2 separate regions of the Homo sapiens genome follow, and region 2 is linked to region 1. Evidence: promoter capture Hi-C in human tissues and cell types (Jung and others, 2019). All regions are on one chromosome and are shown on one strand. Each heading gives the region's core, a stretch centred on a gene start or on the middle of the fragment in contact. The rest is flanking DNA. Distances are from core to core; before and after follow the strand shown. Region 1 holds the start of C9orf153 (chromosome 9 open reading frame 153). Region 2 has its middle 46 kb from the start of C9orf153.

The links. Contacts are between HindIII fragments. The study calls those that stand out against the background at their distance.
Region 2: a fragment that was not itself captured here is called in contact with the fragment with the promoter of C9orf153 in region 1 in 1 of the 25 tissues and cell types used here (H1 embryonic stem cells).

What each region holds. Positions count from the first base shown.
Region 1 is chr9:86,258,407-86,265,092 of GRCh38, forward strand. C9orf153 (chromosome 9 open reading frame 153) reads right to left here and starts at 1,251. Exons shown (of 4, transcript NM_001276366.4): 1 at 1,144-1,251. ISCA1 (iron-sulfur cluster assembly 1) reads right to left here. Exons shown (of 4, transcript NM_030940.4): 4 at 6,140-6,686. It also overlaps the pseudogene RN7SKP264. The HindIII fragment of the contact is 6,872 bases long and covers 1-4,820 here.
Region 2 is chr9:86,210,364-86,217,049 of GRCh38, forward strand. No RefSeq gene overlaps it. Among named protein-coding and RNA genes, the nearest start is that of C9orf153, 46 kb to the right of the region's middle. The HindIII fragment of the contact is 3,422 bases long and covers 825-4,246 here.

The sequences.
Region 1 (6,686 bases), core at 1-2,500:
TTGAAGTAATTACTTTTAGAGAGCTTGTTTGGAGGTTCTAGCAGGGGAGTGCAGCTACTCATATACCCTTGCCCAAAGAACGGCCCTCCTCTGTTGGGGAAGGTTGTCCGCAGCGTCTGGAAGGACGCATGTGGACGGATGAGGGAGGAAGGAGACATCCACCTAGCCAGCCAGATCAGACAAATTAACCCTGGCCATCAGTGGGGTGACAGATGTTGCAGCCAGATCACCCTCACATCCGGAAATAATTGCTTTTAAAACGCAATATTTGAAAACCTGAATTTTCTTGGGTAAGCAACTATTATATTGCTAATTTAACGAAACTTTTTTTAAAAATATTAATATACTTAAATTTTAGAGCAATTTTAGAATTGGTTAGAAAGTACAATGTTCCCACAACCCCCCTTCTCTGCACCATACACACAGCTTTCCCCTTTTTTTTTTACTACTTATGTTTGTGTGGTACGTTTGTTATACTTGATGAGCCGGTATCAATGCATGGTTACTAACTAAAGCCCATACTTCACAGTTTACATTACGGTCCATTCTTGGTGTTGTGCATTCTATGAGATTTCACAATGTGCAATTACATATATCCACTTTGATAGTATCATACAGAGCAGTGTTTTTTTTTTTTCTTTGAGATAGGCTCTCATTCTGTCACCCCAGCTGGAGTGCAGTGGCGTGAACACAGGTCACTGCAGCCTCAACCTCCCAGGCTCAGGTGATCCTCCCATCAGCCTCCCAAGTGGCAGAGGAAAAACAAAGGACACTGGGTGTGAGGGAGAGGTGCAAAGTCAGGACCAAGCATCCATGGGAACACAGGGGAGGATGAAGGCACTGAGGTTGGGGAGAGAGAGCAGAGCTATCAGTGTTGAAGGCCGGAAAGGATGAGGGAGTCTGCAGGCTCGGCCCGATCAACTGGTTCCAGCTTCTGTGACCTGCCTGGAGGAAGATGAAACAGGCTCCTCATCCTTATTGGTAAAGATAAACCCAAATCCCATCTCACCTCCCAGCTCTGGTCTTCCCACCTTAGCCACTGCCCACCTCACTCCATCTCTCCTTGCCAAGCCTAGACTGGCTTAGTTTTCACTGCTCTGTGGTCTCACAGTGCCCCGTGGCTATGGCTGTAGATGCACTTACCACTTGTTTTACAGTTGTCTCTTCACGTGGTCATATCTGTCTTGAGTCTCTGCACTCCCAGGGCAGAGGCTGGGTCTCATTCATCCAGCAGCCCCAAGGCCCAGCCCCACTCCTAGCATGTGTCATTGCTTAGTGTTAAGTGACTGTCCATTGTGACATGTGGACATTCTCAAGGTCACATAAGCAGCTATATGATGCTAAGCGATGGGGAATTATCTTGCTGCTTGGTGGGGGGTGGGAGACGGTGGAGGATGATGGAAAAGCATTTTTAAAGAGTGAACATTGAGTAGCTGAGTAGCTACTTTTTTTTCTGCCTCAGCTTGTGGCTGGGACCCCGGGCGCACGCCACCACGCCTGGCTAATTTATGTATTTTTCTCTAGAGATGGGGTTTCGCCATGTTGCCCAGGCTGGCGTGAGTATAATTTTTTTTTTTTTTTGAGATGGAGTCTCACTCTGTCGCCCAGGCTGGAGTGCAGTGGCACGATCTCAGCTCACTGCAAGCTCCGCCTCCCGGGTTCACGCCATTCTCCTGCCTCAGCCTCTTGAGTAGCTGGGACTACAGGTGCCGTGAATGTAATTTTTAATCAGTCAAGTTTTTCCTTCTATAGACATGGGCAAAGTGCAAATAAGAAATTGAGAGAGATAATAGAAGGTACAGCTATGCTCTTTGCACCTGGCCAGATATGGGTAGAAGTGGACCAGGGGCTACCTGGCTGTGCAAATTCTCTCCATGAGCCATGCAGCCGTGCTCCAGACTCCATTCCCCACCCATGGGAGGTCCCTGTGGCAATCACTGAAAATTTTCCTGAAACAGCCATTTCCCCAGAATGCAATCTACTGGGCATTTAAATAGTCTGATTGAGTTAATAACTTGTGAACACCGTGGCAACATATCCATAACATGAAGCTTACCGTGTTAAGCCGTTTTAGGTACACAGTTCTGTGGCATTCAGTACATTCACATTGTTGTGCCACCTGCACTGCCTTCCATCTCCAGAGCTTTTTCATCTTTTCCACCTGAATCTGTGTCCATGAAATAAATTTCTCACCCCCTGTCCCCTGTCAATGGACACCTGGGTTGTTCCTACCTTTTGGCTATTGTGAATAATGCTGTTATGAACATGGATATACAAGAAAGTTAATAATTTTAAGCAGAATTTAATAAATACAGAAGATTCTTCCAATGAGAAAATATTTCAAAAGCCTGCCATTCAAAGGTGTTCTGCAGAGCAACAGCACTGGCTTCACTTGGGCCTTTGCTACTAATGCAGAATCTCAGGCTCTGCCCTGGACCTTTGTTACAGAATCTGCTTTTTTTTTTTTTTTGAGACAGTTTTGCTCTGTCACCCAGGCTGGAATGCAGTGGTGCCATCTCATGTCACTGCAACCTCCCCACCTCCCAGGTTCAAGTGATTCTCCTGCCTCAGCCTCCTGAGTAGCTGGGACTAGAGGCGCCCACCACTATGTCTGGCTAATTTTTGTGTATTTTTAGTAGAGATGGGGTTTCACCATGTTGGCCAGGCTGGTCTCGAACTCCTGACCTCAAGTGATCCACTCGCCTCAGCCTCCCAAAGTGCTGGATTACAGGCGTGAGCTACCTACTGCGCCCGGCCAAGAATCTGCTTTTTAACAAGACCCCCAGGTGACTTATTTGCACCTTAAAGTTTGAGGACTGCTTCAAGACATAGAATCCATGGAGAACAAAAAATGAGTACTTTATTTTTTATTCTTTTTTTTTTTGAGACAGGGTCTTGCTCTGTCATCCAGGCTGGAGTGCAGTAGTACGATCTTGGCTCACTGCAACCTCTACCTCCTGGGCTAAAGTGATCCTCTCACCTTGGTCTCCTGAGCAACGGGGACTACAGGCATGTACCACCATGACCAGCTAATTTTTGTATTTTTTGTAGAGACGGCGTTTTACCACGTTGCCCAGGCTGGTCTTGAACTCCTGGGATCAGGTGATCTGCCCACTTTTGCCTCCCAAAGTGCTGGGATTACAGGCTTGAGCCAACACACCTGGCCCAATAAATGGGCACTTCATCATGAAAAGTTTCGGAATCACTAGCTAGTGGAAGTAAAAGCAGTAACCCATCAAGGCCCTCAAAGTAGGCTAGTTTTAAGCTGAGTACCGCTGGTACAGAGCCCTTGCCCCGCTAAAGGTTGGTGTGAAATGAAGCCTTCCCTGAACACTGCACAGCAGCAAGGGAGGATGGGAGTCCACAGTGATGTAACCACCACATGGCTCTGTATTTCAATAGAGGCTGAGGCTAGGGTGCACCTCCCTCTCTCCTCCATCTCTTGTCTGATGAGACCCACCTGGGACCAGGAGATTGAGTTCCTACTGGGGAATGAGCTTTCAAAACAGCTCCTCAATTAAGGCAGGTTTGTCTATAGTTAATCAGCTACTAAGAGAATGAAATTTCTCCGAATGTTTATATTTGAAATTTATGGTTCTTTTCAAAGAAGTTACTGTGGTCTTTTATTTGAAGGAAATACAGCAAATTTCCCCCAGATTTGAATATGGGACAATAACTCCCTAAATGTGTTGAAACTCTTTCCCTAAGCTCTTGCTTTGATTGATAATCCATTAACATATTATCCCTTTTTGCACAAGAAAATGGCTAAAAGGGACAAGAATTACAACGTATGAAACGTCTACCCTTAGCAGGATGCCATTTATGTGTAGTTAGCTCATCACATCCCCCCAAATTCTGAGACTGTTTTACAGAAGGTTACATGGCTACAAAATGACAGGAACCATGATTCAAATCCAGGCATATCTCACCCCAAACCTACACCTTTCCAGGCCAGCCTCCCAGCCTGCACTGAGCTCAGGTGAGCTGTATTTGGGTTTATTCTGGGTCGATGCTGTGTCTGGCCCATGCCACGTCTGCTCTAAGGCTCAAATGAGACACTGATGTTGCTTACAGCTCAGCTTAGCACAGGCTTTTCCATTTCCTGATTTCTCAGGTATCAAAACATGACAAGAAAGGCCATTTTTTTTTTGAGGTATTTCCTGCTGAGTGAAACCTAGGAAATACTGGAAATCTTAGGGACATCTGATCTTGTAGGGATTGTTCCCAACCCTTTCCTGTTTGAGAAAAAAAAAATCATTCTGGTGGGTCCGGTGACAGAGGGCTGGGAGGCGCCCTGCAACAATGAAGCACAGCAGGCCTCTGTCCTCATGGCCTGATTCATTCAATTTAGCATCCTGATGTGGAAGAGTGGGCTTATAACTGATCATGAAAAGCCTGAAGTCTGCTGCTAAGCGACAGATCTGCTGGCCTACACATCACCCAGGGGCACTACCAAATCGCCTAACACAATGACCAGTGTTTGTGAGTAGAATGTGGATGAATGTGGTGCAACAGACAGAACCTTCCTGGTGAGGGCTAAGGCTTGCATGACATGGTGTGACATGGCCGTAGGATGGAGCCATTTTGCAAAAATAATTCTGACCTGCCCGATGCTAAACGAACACTGAAGAAGCAATTGCGTTCCTGTCTCCAAGATCCTTTCAATATTGTACAAGAGACAAGAACCAAAACCAATGAACAGTACAAGTACTGCCTGTACAAATAGAAATGAGTCACAGAACACTGGCTGATGAGGTTGGGCTACGGATAGAGTACCATCCTTTCTGCCTCCTAAGCCTTTCTCTCACGGGTCCCTGCTCAGGTCCTATTATAGCGGGCTTTGCAGTAGCTTCTTCCTGTCCTCATCAGCCAGCCTAGTCCAGGCCATGGAAACACTTCCAAATGCAATTTTCTAATGAGTGCCCCTAAACACTTTCAGTGGCCCCAAGGCCTACAGAACTTGCAGAAAGCCCAAACGCCCCAGGCATCTACCTTGCCCTCCAGCCTTACTGCTCCTCTCCGGGCCTCATTCTCCGGAGTGCTTAGCTTCACTGTGTTTTTATTATTACTTTTTATTATACTTTAAGTTCTAGGGTACATGTGCACAACGTGCAGGTTTGTTACTTATGTATACATGTGCCGTGTTGGTGTGCTGCACCCATTAACTCGTCATTTACATTAGGTATATCTCCTAATGCTATCCCTCCCCCACGACAGGCCCTGGTGTGTGATGTTCCCTGCCCTGTGTCCAAGTGTTCTCATTGTTCAATTCCCACCTATGAGTGAGAACACGCCCTCTGTGTTTTTTCAACCCTCTTTAGTACTGTTCACTGTCTTCCCTCTTCCCCAAATCTCTTTCAACTAGGCGCAGGGGTCATAACCTGTAGGCTACCTTTTTAGAAGCGCACTCCGTTGGTTCTATCAGGACACGCAGTATGGCCTAACAGCTGGGAGCACAGCATCTGGAGCCATAGACACAGGGTACGATTCTGACTTGGCCACCTTAGCTATTTTATTTAAGCTGTGTTTTGGTTTATCTATGAAAAAGACAGTAGTCAGACCTGCATTCTCGATTGCTGAGATGATGTTTATTAGAACACTTCCTGGCATGCAGTGAGCATGCCATCACCACCAGCTGCTCACAACACTTACCATGGTGATCGATGCTCTTCGCTGGTGTCTCATTTGCCGACTTGAAGCTCTCTGAGGTTGGGACTGTCTTTGATGACCTGTGAAAGCTCAGGGCTAGTGGAGAGTCAGTGCTCACTACTGTGCCTGAGTGAACAGCTGAGAACCTTCTTGGAGGAGGTTCACATAAAAGCTCAGATGACAGAGGGAAAAGCACTCCAGGTAGTGATAATGCTCTCGTCCTAAGGACATGAGGAACCTGCTTGGGGGATGGATGACCCTCATGGGGAACAAGGAGGAAAAAGAGGCTAGCAAAGCCAGGGAGATGAGAGACACCTGAGATGGTCTCTCCAGGGCTGTGTGGAGAATCAGCAGCTAGGACTCTGGACGAAACAGTGTCAGGTAGGGAGGACGCCTGGTGACAGGCAGCCTAGGCAAAAAAGACAGTCATTTTTTTATTGGCTTTAGCAGCTGCTGTCCCAAACCCTCTCCCCTCAATAATAAAAGGCAATTTTATGATCACAAAGAGGCCACATTTTTTTTAATTGACAACTCAATCTCTACATACATACAGTGTTGCACGAATTATAAGTGGATCAACAATTATATTATTGATACAAACTCATGAGCATTTACATAAAACTACCGCTCTAGGTTTTGGTGTGTTTTGTGTCAGCTACTTTAGTGAATAAACGAAACATAAAGGAACTCAGCTACTTGAATTCATGAGAATCAGCTTTCAAAAAAAGCATATATATCATCTCATAGAATACTTATGTCAAACCCAGGAAAATCAGTAACTAAGTGACAAAAGGAACACTTTTAAAGAAAAGTTGGTGATAAATATGTTAGGCTAAAATACTAAGAACTTTAGCAACTGGACCGAGGAACCAGAAAATGTATGCACACTGGGAATTTTAACAAAAGATTACACATTCTCCTGTACAGTGAGGACCACATTCCAAAAGCATAATTCTGGGTTGCTACAATGTCATCTCTGCTACAAACCATTGTTTCAAAGGTGAAAGAAACAAGATGGTAATTGACATAAAAAGGTT
Region 2 (6,686 bases), core at 1,286-3,785, 47 kb before region 1:
ATGGTGCCACTGCACTCCACCTGGGCAACGGAGCAAGACTCTGTCTCAAACAAACACACACCCGTAATTCCAGAGTCCCTTACAGCTGGGGGTGGTCACACTACATGGTTCTGGATATGATATGTATCCAGAATGCTGATGAGAAGGTCCTCCCTTCCAAAATAAAACAGGGAACTTCGAGAAGATGGCTTTTCATGCTTTTTCATTCTTCCTGTCTGGCGCACTGATGCAATGTCTGTGGGGATAGCAGCCACCTTATAACTATGCCAATGAAACCACAAATAAAAAAATGAGATGAGAGAAAGACAGGAGTCTGGGAGACTGGTGGTATTCTGAGCCTACCGCGCTGCACAGCCCTGCTGACCTCTGCACATTTTGCTGGACACAATAAACTAATGTGTATTTTAGGTGCTGGCATCCATGCATTTTCATACTTGTAACCAAGCACCATGCTAAACCATACAACACAGAATAGAAAAAAATAACTGTTTAAGGAACTGGGGAAAATATTGGTTAAAATAATCCAGGGATAATAGTAACCCAGAAGAAGGCAAAGGTAGTCTTATCTTTCTGAAATTTGGCCTCAAGGAGTATGGAAACCAAAACCAAGAGGAACTTTCTCAATGCAACTACTCGTACTACTATTAATTTTACTACTACTAATAAAGATAATAATACACACTAGCAGCAAAGCCAGCTTACATTTTTAAAGTGCTTACCATGTACCAGGCACTCTCCTAAGCACTCCACATCTTAAATTATTGAATCCTAAGAGCAACCTTCACAATTATTATCTTTATTTCACAAATGAAGATATTGAGATAGAGAGAGCTTAAATGATTTGTGAGGATCAAAGAGCCAAAATTTCAACCTAGGATGCCTTACTACAAGGCCTGCTGTGTGAACCAAATTTTATGAAATTCTCTTAATATGCGATATAATATCACTTCATCTTTGGTAAAAATTCTGCTCAAATCTTCTATTTTTAAAAATTGGTTGATTATCATCCTAATATCAAGTATCTATTTGCTTTTTACAGTTAAAACAGTAACATTGCTGCCAGGCGTGGTGGCTCATGCCTGTAATCCCAGCACTTTGGGAGGCTGAGGTAGGTGGATCATTTGAGGTCAGGAGTTCGAGACCAGCTTGGCCAGCATGGTGAAATCCCGTCACTACTAAAAATACAAAAATTAGCTGGGCGTGGTAGCGGGTGCCTGTAATCCCAGCTACTCGGGGGGGCTGAGGTAGGAGAATCGCTTGAACCCGGGAGGCGGATGTTGCAGTGAGCAGAGATCCTGCCACTGCACTCCAACCTGGGCGACAGACTGAGAGACTGAGACTCTGTCTCAAACAAAACAAAACGAAACAAAACACAACCCAAAAAACAGTAACATTGCTGAACAGTCCAAAGAAACAAAGCGGAAGGAAGCAATGGCATGGCATCTTCAAAGAGCAGACAGAAAATAACTTCTAACCTAGAATTCTGGATCCAAGGAAAATATCCTTCCCACATGAAAGTGATATACAAACTTTTTTTTTTTTTTTTGAGAGGGAGTCTCACTCTGTTGGCCAGGCTGGAGTATGGTGGCACAACCTCTGCCTCCCGGGTTCAAGCGATTCTCCTGCCTCAGCCTCCTGAGTAGCTGGGACTACAGGCACATGCCACCACGCCTGGCTAATTTTTTGCTTTTTTAGTAGAGATGGACTTTCACTGTGTTAGCCAGGATGGTCTTGATCTCCTGACTTTGTGATCCACCTGCCTTGGCCACCCAAAGTGCTGGGATTACAGGTGTGAGCCACCACACCCGGCCCAAACATTTTTGAATGAACAAAAAATTGAAAAATTCATTGCCAGCCTACCCACTCTAAAGGAAATATTAAAGATTGTCCTCCAGGCAGAGGGAAAATTAAGCCAGATAAAAACTTGCTTAGAGATGTAGAAAGAAATTAAGAACAAGGCCGGGTGTGGTGGCTCACGCCTATAATCCTAGCACTTTGGGAGGCTGAGGTGGGCGGATCACCTAAGGTCAGGAGTTCGAAACCAGCCTGGCCAACATGGCGAAACCCCATCTCTACTAAAAATACAAAAAATTAGCCGGGCATGGTGGTGGGCGCCTGTAATCCCAGCTACTTGGGAGGCTGAAGCAGGAGAATTGTTTGAACCCAGGAGACAGATGTGGCAGTGAGCTGAGATCTCACCACTGCACTCCAGCCTGGGTGACAGAGCGAGACTCCATCAAAGAGAAGAAAGAAAGAAAGAAAAAGAAAGAAAGAAAGAAAGAAAGAATATGTAGGTAAATCTAAATGAATAGTAACTATATAAAACCTTATAAAACTGTAAATAATGTCTTGTGGGGATACTTATTATTATATATTAGAAAATACGTTTTCAGATACATACAGTCACTATAGTTGCTTGTAGGGATATATAATATTATTACATATTAGCAAATATATATTATACATATAGTCATTAAGCTTAGACATTGGCAAGAGGTACTTTTCCCTGGGCCCTGAACTCTGGCCTTATTTCAGCCATGCCCTACCTTACAGGATGAGGAATCCAGGGGGCCCAGGGAACATGCCCACCTGGAGCCTTTATCACTCCATCTGGAGCACAGTTAGGTATCTGAGACCTCAGAATTTCCCACTCAAAATGATCTGATTATTCTTCCCGGCTTGTGTGGGCCCTTTCCCTGGCTCCTTCCTTCCAAGGGCAAACCACACTGCCAGCACCTAGCACCTAGGAGTGGACACGTGGAGGCTGTTTGTAGCCAGTGTCTGCAGAGTTGGGTTGTCCATACGCACATGCATGAGGCCCTCACAGTGTTAGAGCTGGAAGTGGGAAGAGAAGGATGACTGAGCATCAGGTACCAGAGGCTATCTCTCTTGTGCCATACCATTTTAGCACAGAACTACAGAGAGCTCTAAATTAGAATTTAGAATTTGAATTTGGCCCTTCAAGTTGTCATGAAGGATTATTGGTAAATGTAGAAAATAGCACCCATTTTATTCAATAGTTTGTTAGCTTGGTTTATTCTTTAAACTATCTAGATATATGGTGTGTAGGTCTCCATCTGTACTCTTTGTCTGAGCCCCAAAATTGGTTACGGGGCAGGTCTCTCTACATAGAATTAAAATATACAAAAACAGCCAGGCACAGTGGCTCACGCCTGTAATCCCAGCACTTTGGAAGGCTGAGGTGGACGGATCATGAGGTCAGGAGTTTGAGACCAGCCCGGCCAATATGGTGAAACCCCATCTCTACTAAAAATACAAAAATTAGCCAGGTGTGGTGGCACGCGCCTGTAGTCCTAGCTACTTGGGAGGCTGAGACAGAAGAACTGCTTGAACCTGGGAGATGGAAGTTGCAGTGAGCCGAGATTGCGCCACTGCACTCCAGCATGAGTGACAGAGTGAGACTCCATCTCAAAAAAAAAAGATATATATGCGCGTGCACACACACACACACACACACACAAACAATAGTCCATAATTTGGAATGGTGATAAATGGAGTTAAAGGGTCCTAAGGCAGTAGCATGTCTGAGATGAGGTAAAAGCACTAGTATACAATGTTTTCTTCTAAGTTAAAGATGTTTGAGGCTGGGCATGGTGGCTCACGCCTGTAATACCAACACTTTGGGAGGCCGGGGGGGAGGATCACCTGAGGTCACAAGTTCAAGACCAGCCTGACCAACATGGAGAAACCCTGTCTCTACTAAAAATACAAAATTAGCTGGACCTAGTGGCACATGCCTGTAATCCCAGCTACTTAGGAGGCTGAGACAGGAAATTCGCTTGAACCTGGGAGGCGGAGGTTGCAGTGAGCCAAGATTGCACCATCACACTCCAACCTGGGCATCAACAGCAAAAAAAAAAAAAAAAAGATGTTTGTTGTAATATCTAAGGTATCCACTAAAATAATAGGCCGATAATGTATAGTTAACAAGCATTGAAGAAGGAAAATAAATTAAAAAGTAAACAAATCCAAAAACTGGCAAGAAAAATTGAGATAGTTAAGGCGAGAAAAACAGAAAGCAAGTAATAAGATGTTTAAATGGTGTATATCAATAACTAAATTAAGTGCAAATGGAATAAATGCCTCAGTTAAAAGCCAAAAATTGGCCAGGAGTGGTGGCTCACACCTGTAATCTCAGCATTTTGGAAGGCTGAGGGAGCAGGATTGCTTAAGGCCAGGAGTTTGAGACCAGCCTGGGCAACATAGTGAAACCTTATCTCTATGAAAAATTAAAAAAAATTAGCTGGGCACAGTGGCATGCACCTGTAGTCCCAGCTACTCAGGAAGTTGAGGCAGGAGGATCATTTGAGCCCAGGAGTTCAAGGCTGAGTGAGCTATGGTTGCACCACTGCACTCCAGCCTGGGTGACAGAGTAGGACTTCATCTCTGTCTTAAAAAAAAAAAAAGCCAAAGGTTCTAAGTCTGGATTAAAAAATCTCCAACAGGCTGGGCGTGGTGGCTCATGCCTATAATCCCAGCACTTTGGGAGGCTGAGGGGGGTGGATAATGAGGTCAGGAGTTTGAGACCAGCCTGAGCAACATGGTGAAACCCCGTCTCTACTAAAAATATAAAAATTAGCTGGGTGGGGTGGTGTGCTCCTGTGATCCCAGCTACTCAGGAGGCTGAGGCAGGAGAATCGCTTGAACCCGGGAGGAGGAGGTTGCAGTGAGCCAAGATCACGTCACTGCAATCCAGCCTGGGTGACAGAGTGAGACTCCATCTCAAAAAAAAAAAAAAGGAAAAAAAAGAAAAGAAAAACAACAACAACATGCTGTTTACCGGAGACATTACCTAAATATAAGAATACAAAAAAGTTCAATGTAAAAGAATAGAAAAGGTACAGCATATAAACATCAACTAAGAGAAAGTTGATATGCCCGTATTAATATAAACAAAGTCAATGTTAAGAAGCATCATTAGAGGTAAAGATTATTTATTAATCATAAAAGTTTTCATTCATCCAGAAGCTATAACATTTTCAGAGTCTTATAAATGACACAATAAAATTAATAGAAATGAAAGTAAAAGTAGAGGCTCCTTGAATGAGAATGGGGACTTTTTAACACACTCCTTGTCTGATAACTGATAAACAAAAATCAGTAGACCTGTTGAAGATTTGAACAACGTGATTAACAAATTTGACATAATTGATATAGATAAAAAAGCTATACTCATCTGGGCATGGTGACTCATGCCTGTAATCCCAGCACTTTGGGAGGCCGAGGCGGGTGGATCACCTGAGGTCAGGAGTTTGAGACCAGCCTGGCCAACATGGTGAAACCCCGTCTCTACTAAAAATACAAAATTAGCCGGATGTGGTGGCACATGCCTGTAATCCCACCTACTTGGGCAGCTGAGGCAGGAGAATTACTTGAACCCAGGAGGTGGAGGTTGCAGTGAGCCGTTATCGTGTCATTGCACTCCAGCCTGGGCGACAAGAGCGAAACTCTCAAAACAAACAAACAAACAAACAAACACCTATAATCAGTAATTGTGACATATACATTCTATTCAAGTACACTTGAAATTTTACCAAAATTAACTATATATCAGACCATAAAGCATACTTCATCAGATGGAAATTATACAAAATATGTTCCCTGACCACAGTGGAATCAAGTTAGAAATCAATAACAAAAGGATTCAATAGAGCAAAAGCATTAAGGTAAGGATATGTATCACAGATAGTAGCAAGGGGCCCAGGGCACCAGGCCCAGGCTTTGACTGTTCTCTCCCTGTAAGGACTCTATTAGACACACGTTTCTTCTCCAGGAACAAAACATGGATGAATCTTACAAAAGAATCCATACTGTATGATTCCATTTGTATAAAAATAGGCAAAACTAATCTATGGTAAATATTGATTATCTTTGGAAGGGAGGGATGGAGTAATGATTAAGAGAGGGCCAGAGAGGGGCGTACTGGCAGAATTCTGATTCATGCCCTGGGTAGTGATTCCATAGGTGCATTCAGCTTGTTATAATTCATCAAGCTTGTGATTTGCTGTATAACATTATACTTCAAAAAAGTTATTTAAAAATGAAGCAAACACCTACAAGTTCACAATACTTTTTTTTTTTTTTTTTTTTTTTGAGGCGAAGTCTCATTCTGTTGCTCAGGCTGGAGTGCAGTGATGCGATCTTGGCTCACTGCTAACTCTGCCTCCTGGGTTCAAGCAATTGGTCCTGCCTCAGCCTCCGGAGTAGCTGGGATTAATAGCCAGCACACCACCACATCTGGCTAATTTTTTATTTTTATTTTTATTTTTTATTTTAGTAGAGACGGGGTTTCTGCCATGTGGGCCGGGCTGGTATTGAACTCCTGCCCTCAAGCAATCTACCCGCCTTGGCCTCCCAAAGTGCTGAGATTACAGGTGTGAGCCACCATGCCCAGCCACAATGCTATTTTAAAAGAGAGAAGGAAAGAAATACTTATTTGGCAACCTTTTGAAGTAACTAGAACATCAACTCCTTAATTTAAAAATTGACAACTAACAGGAAAAACATAAGCAGTTAACCTGCTTTCTTGTAGATTGTATTTCAGTGTAAAGTAAATAACTTTAGTTGATGAGGAAAAGTTTTTCTTTACAAATAATTTCCAACTAATAAATGTGGAATTAATGGCAGAATTAGATAATCACCAACGAGTAACCACTAATGAAATA